Regions from separate parts of the Homo sapiens genome. Here region 1 is linked to region 2. The links are contacts of gene promoters, found by promoter capture Hi-C in blood cells and fetal thymus (Javierre and others, 2016). All regions are on one chromosome and are shown on one strand. The core of a region is centred on a gene start or on the middle of the fragment in contact, and the rest is flanking DNA. Distances in the headings are between cores, read along the strand shown.

Region 1 (4,238 bases), core at 560-3,059, 620 kb before region 2:
CTTTCTTGGGCCAGAAACCCTCTGACTCCAGATAACCTCATGCTCCCCCTGGCTCCTCATTCTTACCTCAAGTATTTTTTTCCCTGCCTTCCTCCCTCCCCACTCACTCCCTTGCCTCAACTCTTAGGTCACATTCTTAGGGAATTCTTTCCTGAGCAGAAAACTAATTCATTAATTAATCAATTTATCCATATAGCCTTTTGCTCACTGCATATTCATTGAGAACCTTTCAAGTGCCTTGAAGTAGTTTGGGTGTTATGGGTACACCAGTGAACAAAACAGACAAAATTGCTTCCCAGAATAAGCTTACTTCCTGGGGAATGGTTTGGGAGAGAAGTGCAATAAAATGTCATCACTATCAGGGAGTGACAACAGAAGGATCAGGGGACAGGGTCTCAGGTGTTGTGCCATTTATAAGGGTGGTCAGGTAAAACCCATTTGGTAAGATAAAATATATGAATGGGGAACTATAGGAAGTGATAAAATAAGACTTGCAGATATTTGGAGGAAAAGCATCCTAAGGAGAGCAAAAATTCTAAGGAAGGAGTGAGTCTTGTGAAATATGAAATAGTCCAATGCAGTTGGAGCAGTGAACCCAGGAGGGGTAGGAGATGAAATCATGACAGTATATACAACAGGGGGCCAGGTCATACAGAGTTTTAAAAACTGTTTTCAAAACTTTAGATTTACTTTGAGTAAGATGGGGCATCAGGGAAGTGTTCTAAACCAGGGAGTGAATGATTGTGAATGATTGGGCTAATATTTAATTCTGTCTCTCTGTCTGCTGAGTGTAGAATAAATCATGAGGCAGAAACAGGGTGACCAGCTAAAAGCCTTCCATGATATCCCAAGTCAGAGATGATGGTGGCTCAGCAGTGGTAGCACTGAAGGTAGTGAGAAGTCATCAGATTCTGGATATATTTTTTAAATTTATGGGAATAACTTTTTAAATGTACAATATTTCTCATAGTGATAAGTCCCATGAAAAAGAATTAGGAATAAAGTTTGAAAAGGAATAGAAGAGGGCCATAGGTTTGGCAATTTTTAAAAAGCTGACCATGGAAGACCTTTCTGAATGAATGACCTTTGAATAAAGATCCAGTTGAAGTGAGGGAGCAAACCACGTGGGTATATAGGGAAATCACAATCCATAGGGTGGGAACAACAAGAATAAGAACCCTAAGGCAGAAGCAAGCCTGGTATGTTCAAAGAACTGTAAGGAGTCTATGGACAGTGTGAGATTGTGGGTCAGAGAAGCTCGGGACAGTGAAGCAGAGCAGAAAGTGAGGGGGCTGGAAAATAGACAAGGTGAGATTGGGGGACAAAGAGATGAGTATGGAGAGAAAGACTGAAAAAGAGATGGGGGACTGAGAAAAAAGAGACGGAAAGACTGAGTGTGGGAACAACTGAGGGGTACTGAAGATATGCTGAGGGGCAGAAAGAAAAGACTGAGAATAAGTGGGCAACTGGGGTTCCAGAGGAGGTGCTGAGGTGGGGAGAGACAGAGGTTGAAGGACAATAAGGCATGCAAAGGAGGAATCTGAGATAAAGAGAAGGTAGACCGAAGAGCGGAGAGGAGGAGACTGAGACAGCGAGGGCTACTGAGAGCTGAGGGAAGAACAGACTGAGAGGCCCAGAGAGAAGAAACTGGGAGTTCCGATGCTGCATCAGCAGCCTCTGTGTACAGACTCTGGCGTCCCTGCCCCGCTTTAGCAGTTCCTACAGACGCTTGACCTGCCAGGAAAGGAAAGAAACCTGAGCCTCTGCTGAAAGGTGATGGATTTAAGGCCCGGCTGCTGAGGATAAGATAAAGGTCCTCCTGGGGGAGAACAGAGTCCCGAACACCATGGCCGTCTGGCTTGCCCAGTGGCTGGGCCCTCTGCTCTTGGTTTCCCTCTGGGGACTCTTGGCTCCAGGTAAGAGGAGGCTGAGGGTCAAGCAGGGCATCCTAAGGGGGCCAGCCTGACTTCCTTCCCTCCATGTCCCACAGCCTCCCTTCTTAGGCGCCTGGGTGAGCACATTCAGCAGTTTCAGGAGAGCTCTGCCCAGGGCCTGGGCCTGAGCCTGGGGCCAGGTGCTGCAGCCCTCCCAAAAGTGGGGTGGCTGGAGCAACTGCTGGACCCCTTCAACGTGTCCGACAGACGATCCTTCCTACAGGTGAGGCCGGGAGACGGGGAGTCCACTAACCATCCTGCCCTCTCCTCAGTCTCCCTCATCTCTTCCTCAGTCTGCACTTTTTTCTCTCTCCACACCTCAGTTCTCCCCATCCCTCTGCTTGAATCTCATGTTATGCTTGCTGTCAGTATCCCTTTTCCTGCCCTTTGTAGATTTGGCCTTACTCTCTCCTCTCCTCGGGGTCCCACTCGTTTTGTCCCTCAGATCTTGCCCTTCACCATTTCTTTCTCTCTGTCATTCACATTCACTGCTCCTCCCTACCCCCTTGTCCCTGTCCAGACTGGACACAAAACCTACCACCAGGTCTCAGTAGGTAGCAGAAATTTGAACCAGCTTTGGAATCAGACCTAGCTCACAACAGGCACTCAAAGATATCTATCGAAAGAAGGAACAAATTCGCCATTTTTCAGTGCTTCCTCTGTATTTAGTCTCCAAATATCATCCCACTTGGATCTTATTCCTAAATCCATCTGCATTTATTTCTTATTTTACAATTATTACTTCAAGAAATAGCAAGTTCCTTCAATGTGAGAGCCACTCCCTCAGTTCTGGGGATATAAGAGTGAAAAACCAGGTCAAAAATTTGCTTTTGTATATTTTGCATTCTAGATGAGGAGATGAACAGGGGAAAAGTGAGCAAGTAAATAAACAAGCTCATTTCAGACACTGTTAAGTACATAAGGAAAGATCCATTAGGAAGAGAGACTGGAACAAATGAGGAATTGAGAATAAGTCAGGACTCTCACAGTGCCATTTCTTCTTCCCCATCCCACCTCTCAGCGTTACTGGGTGAATGACCAACATTGGGTTGGCCAGGATGGACCCATATTCCTGCATCTAGGGGGTGAGGGCAGCCTTGGGCCTGGCTCAGTGATGAGAGGTAAGAGGCAATGTTGGGGGAAAGGAGTTGGGATGCTGGTGGGGACCAGGAAGGGGAGCTGCATATTGCAATGCTGTGAGACCTGAGGAGTGAAAGGGCTTAAACTCAACTTGCATCTCACCTCCCCACCCCCCACCCATACACTCTTCACAGGCCATCCCGCAGCCTTGGCCCCAGCCTGGGGCGCCCTGGTGATAAGCCTGGAACACAGATTTTATGGCCTGAGTATACCTGCTGGAGGCCTGGAAATGGCCCAGCTCCGCTTCTTGTCCAGCCGCCTTGCGTGAGTGGAGGAAGGGAAAGTGTTTATGGTCAAAGGACAGGAATGTCTGTGCTTTGGCATCTCTGCATCTGTGTCTCTCTCCTCCACTGTCTGAAGTCAACCTCTGAGTCTCTGGTTCCCTCTGTTTTCTTCTGTGTTTCATAGGGTCTTGTTTTTTCTCTTTCCATTTCTGGGTCTCTGACTCTCCCTATCTGTCTTTCTCTTATCCTGTGTTCTTTCTATTTCTGCGTCTCTGTCTGAAGTAAGCCACTGTATCACTGTGCAGACCACCAGCATTCCTTACCTGGATTACGGCCACAGCATTCTCACCATTTTTCCTGCTCTGCCCTTGACTTCCAGGTGGAAATCAGAGTAATTCTGTTAGAGCATAAACCAGGACATGATCCTCCCTGGCTTAAGTCCCTCAGACATCTTCTGTATTGCTTCAGAAGTAAAGCAATTTTGACTGTATTTGACTTCAGAGTAAAGTCAAAGCTTTTACAGTCGCCATGGAGTCCAGTGGGTTTTGGCCTCTAGTTAACTCTGACCTATACTCTCTCACTTTCACTGGGCTCCAGCTACATTGAAGTCCTCACTGTCCTCCAGACTTACACGCACATTCCTGCCTTGAGCCTTTGAACTCATCCCTCTGCATGGCGTGGCCTTCCCCTAGATGTTTTTATGCCTCTCACCCCAGCCTCCTTCAGTGCATCTCACTCCTATTAACGACCGCCACCATTTTTCCAACTTTACTTCACCTGCTTTTTGTTTCTTTCATCTGCTTTATTCTTACAGAACTTAGCTTTTTCTTTCCTCATTGGTATCTCTGTCTGTGTCTGTAACAGTCTGTTTGCCTGTCTCATTTTCTCCGTCTCTGTATCTACATCTGTGCCTCTTTGTCTCCATCTCTGTCTCTCTGCA
Region 2 (3,900 bases), core at 721-3,220:
GCCCTTCCTTTTTCCTTCCTTCCTCCCTTCCTTCCTTCCTTCCTTTGTTTTCTTTCGTCAGCTATCTTTAGTGATCCTGTATTTTAGGTGTGGCCCAAGACAATTCTTCTTCCAACGTGGCCCAGGGAAGACAAAAGATCGGACACCGCTGCACCAGTTGCTGGGATACATGCCTCTTTGCAAGAGTGAATCCAATATGAGAAAGGAAGGCACAGATATGAGGCTGAGCTGGCTGAGAGCACTAGGGAGAAAAATTGCCTTCACATCTCTGCCAGATATCTCCTAGGTCAAGATGTGTGCTTCAAAAAGTTTAAGAGCAAAATGAGGTCATGATAGTCACATATGTAGAGCACATGAGGAAACTCTAAAACAGCTGGAAATAATGGAAAAGTTTGGTTAGAAACCAGGAAGAGCTTTAAAATACCACTTGAAGTTTAATACCCAGACTGATTCTCTCTGAAAAAAAAAAAGAAAGAAAAAATCTCATGAAAATCCAACTCCACAGTCTATGACAAGCATATGGTGAAATGACAGGAAAATATTTTTTAAGGTCCACTTAGAGCTAGAAGTTCATTTCATAGATGACAGCATGCAGTAGGTTAAAGTATCCCTCCTCAGAGGCCCACTACCTAACACATGGCTTGCTAAACATTACATTGAAACAGAACAAAAGTGTCGAGCTTTTTGTCAAAACTGTTACTTGCATGGGGTACGATGGCAACTTTGTTATGTGCATATGCTCCAAGGTGGTCAAGTTACATGGGCTATACAAGAGCTAAATAGCTTACATTGTACCAATTAAGTAACTTATCATTCATTCTTTCCTCCCTTCTGAGTCCTTATTGTCTATTGTTCCACTCTCATGTGTGTAGTTTTTAGAGCCTGTTGTTTTTTGTATTTTTGAGGCGGAGTCTCGCTCTGTAGCCCAGGCTGGAGGGCAGTGGCGCGATCTCGGCTCACTGCAACCTCTGCCTGCCAGGTTCAAGCGATCCTCCTGCCTCAGCCTCCCGAGTAGCTGGGACTACAGGCGCGTGCCACCACGGCCGGCAGTCTTTTTTTTAGTGGACAGGGGGGTTTCACCGTGTTAGCCAGGATGGTCTTGATCTCCTGACCTTGTGATCCGCCTGCCTCGGCCTCACCAGAGCCTGTGGACACTCATTGTGCTACTTGTTCCCTTCAGTAGGGGCAGGTAGATACGCAGGAGACACATTCCTCAAGGATAAAAACAGGAATACTTTTCAAAACTAAACTTCATCTGTAAAATTGACCCCATGACATGTCTTTTTTGAGTGATAATCCTTATCAGTAGGAACAGGTTCTGTATGTGAAATTGATTTAGCATACCAACAGCCTGTGACCTGACTCCTGCATTATAGTGTGTTGGGCCACTACCACGTTTTGTCCACAGCTTGTATTTAACATGGAGCTAAGACACGTCTCAAAAGCTACAGCTTCCTTTTGGTGACAATTGAGGGGCTCTGAAAAGAGCCTTTTGGGGTTGGACAGACTTCTTGGGCTGATAGGAATATTTATGCCCTCTCCCCTCGGATGCGGCGCGCAAGCTGGATGTCTTTAGGCATAATAGTGACGCGTTTGGCGTGAATGGCGCACAGGTTGGTATCCTCAAATAGCCCCACCAGGTAGGCCTCGCAAGCCTCCTGCAGCGCCATCACCGCCGAGCTCTGGAAGCGCAGATCGGTCTTAAAGTCCTGTGCGATCTCCCGTACCAAGCGCTGAAAAGGTAGCTTCCGGATTAGCAGCTCGGTCGACTTCTGGTAGCGGCGGATCTCGCGCAGGGCCACGGTGCCGGGGCGGTAGCGGTGGGGCTTCTTGACGCCACCGGTGGCCGGAGCGCTCTTGCGAGCCGCCTTGGTGGCCAGCTGCTTGCGCGGCGCTTTGCCGCCGGTGGACTTGCGAGCTGTTTGCTTTGTTCGTGCCATGGCTAAGTAGACGTACCTACTCAACACAAATGAGAGAAAAAAACTGATCATCCCGGTATTTATAGCTGCCCTCGCGTTCTGATTGGACAGTAGACTGTGCCATGCCACGTCTCACACACGGAATTGGCTCCCAGTTTAATCTGCTAGTGAAAGGGAGACATTCCGCCTCTGTTTTGGGTCAAGAAACGTAAAATGGTTTTGCTAGCTAAAGAAAAACAAAAACGGAAACAAAAAAAAATCCCCCAAAAGTCTAGGATTTTTCATGCATCAAAATCCTGTTTAAATATAAGCTTGATAAATCTAAACTTGCCTTGCACTATTTTAATTACGAGGTGTCATTACTGATTTGACAAAAAGTTAAAGAACGTAAAGGAAAAGTGAAACTAGAGTAAATTTGTAAATGGAGGCATTGAAGGGGATATGAAATTCGAGCGTTGTGGTATGCCAGTATTTCTCAAATTTAAACGTACTTAATGTTTTAGAAGTTGGCCGACTTTTTCTGTAAAGGGCGATATTAAAACATTTTGGGCGTTGCGGACCACAGTGTCATAGTTACACAGCCCTCGCATTGGTAGCGGTAAAGTAATCGATACAAGATAAATGAGACCGGCTGTTTCATTATGACTTTTGCAAAAACCAGAGAGGCGTTATAGATTTGGCCGTGTATCAGAGAAGCCGGCACTTTTAACCACTAAGTAATGCTGAAAGGGGCACCGAACCTCAAACTTCAGCGACTGCTTATGTGGAATCGCTAATTTGCCAAAACTGCCATACGTTTAAGTGTTCTTAAGAAATTAACTATCTTTAGTCTACAGCTCTTTCACAGACTTCATGGGTGGCCCTGAGAAGGGCCTTTGAGGAACCGTGTAAGTAAGTAAAACACTCAGCCGCCAAAGCCATACAGGGTGCGGCCCTGGCGCTTGAGCGCGTAAACCACGTCCATGGCTGTGACTGTCTTGCGTTTGGCGTGCTCCGTGTAGGTAACTGCATCGCGGATTACATTCTCCAAAAACACTTTAAGAACTCCGCGTGTCTCCTCGTATATAAGGCCTGAGATGCGCTTAACGCCTCCACGCCGTGCCAGGCGTCGGATGGCGGGCTTGGTGATGCCCTGAATGTTGTCGCGCAGAACTTTGCGGTGGCGCTTAGCGCCTCCTTTGCCCAGACCCTTCCCGCCTTTGCCGCGCCCAGACATGTCTTGTACTAAACAAAATGCAACACGGCAAGCCTCGCAGCAGTACTTTATATAGTAATAAATCGGACCTGATTGGGAACTCTCCACACCAGCTGCATCCGGTCGGCCGATTCACAGACCTTGCGCCCTGCCCACGACTTCAGGAAAAAATGGAAAAGGGGGTACTTAAACTCCAGTTTCTAAAAATGATGCCCAGTTAAAAATTACTCAGCTCATCTTGCCCTTCTACAGTGTTTTAGGCTGACCACCGCTGCATTCCATTGTCTGGGTCTTTGCAGCCTGTTTTTCCTGTCACCTCTTAGCATCGATTGTTCTAGTGCTTTGTGGCTGCTGGAATCAAATGGCGCCATCTCTAGAGGGGTAATCACAGTCGTTTCGGGCATTTGTGAAATAGCGTGTAGAAACTGCTTCCGTACAAACTCGAAGTGATCAGCCTATGGAGTGGCTGACTGCAAAAGACGACGCCTGATGATAGCTCCAAGGTGGGATTCCTCACCTTTCTCAAATTTGGTTCTCTATTCTTTTCCTTATATTTTACTCTTTCTGTAGCTGTCCTTTCTGTTCCTTTCTCTCCCTCGCCAACCACATTTTTGGGGCAAGAACTTTCTATTTTTTTTTCCTCATTCCACCTAGAAACACTTCAGGAAGCTGTTTGAGAAAGAAAGGTGGCTTTTACCCTGTATTTCCTTAGAATTGTGAAGGTGCCGCTTGAGCTCCCTCATGTTCCTCTTTTCTGTTGAACTAGGAAATCAGCTGTGCCCAGAA

What was found. Contacts are between HindIII fragments. The CHiCAGO score rates a contact against its expected background, and 5 or more counts as called.
Region 1: the fragment with the promoter of PRSS16 here is called in contact with the fragment with the promoter of H3C11 in region 2 in 4 of 17 cell types (total CD8 T cells, total B cells, activated CD4 T cells and 1 more); the score reaches 7.7 in total CD8 T cells.

What each region holds. Positions count from the first base shown.
Region 1 is chr6:27,245,892-27,250,129 of GRCh38, forward strand. PRSS16 (serine protease 16) reads left to right here and starts at 1,810. Exons shown (of 12, transcript NM_005865.4): 1 at 1,810-1,916; 2 at 1,991-2,157; 3 at 2,956-3,055; 4 at 3,209-3,338. The coding sequence starts at 1,847. The HindIII fragment of the contact is 3,507 bases long and covers 304-3,810 here.
Region 2 is chr6:27,870,376-27,874,275 of GRCh38, forward strand. It overlaps H3C11 (H3 clustered histone 11), which reads right to left and starts at 1,971. Exons shown (of 1, transcript NM_003533.3): 1 at 1,470-1,971. The coding sequence starts at 1,940. The coding sequence ends at 1,530. H4C13 (H4 clustered histone 13) reads right to left here and starts at 3,159. Exons shown (of 1, transcript NM_003546.3): 1 at 2,773-3,159. The coding sequence starts at 3,135. The coding sequence ends at 2,824. RefSeq lists enhancers at 1-167, 168-805, 2,721-3,358, 2,790-2,839, 3,140-3,309 and 1 more. The HindIII fragment of the contact is 2,761 bases long and covers 1-2,228 here.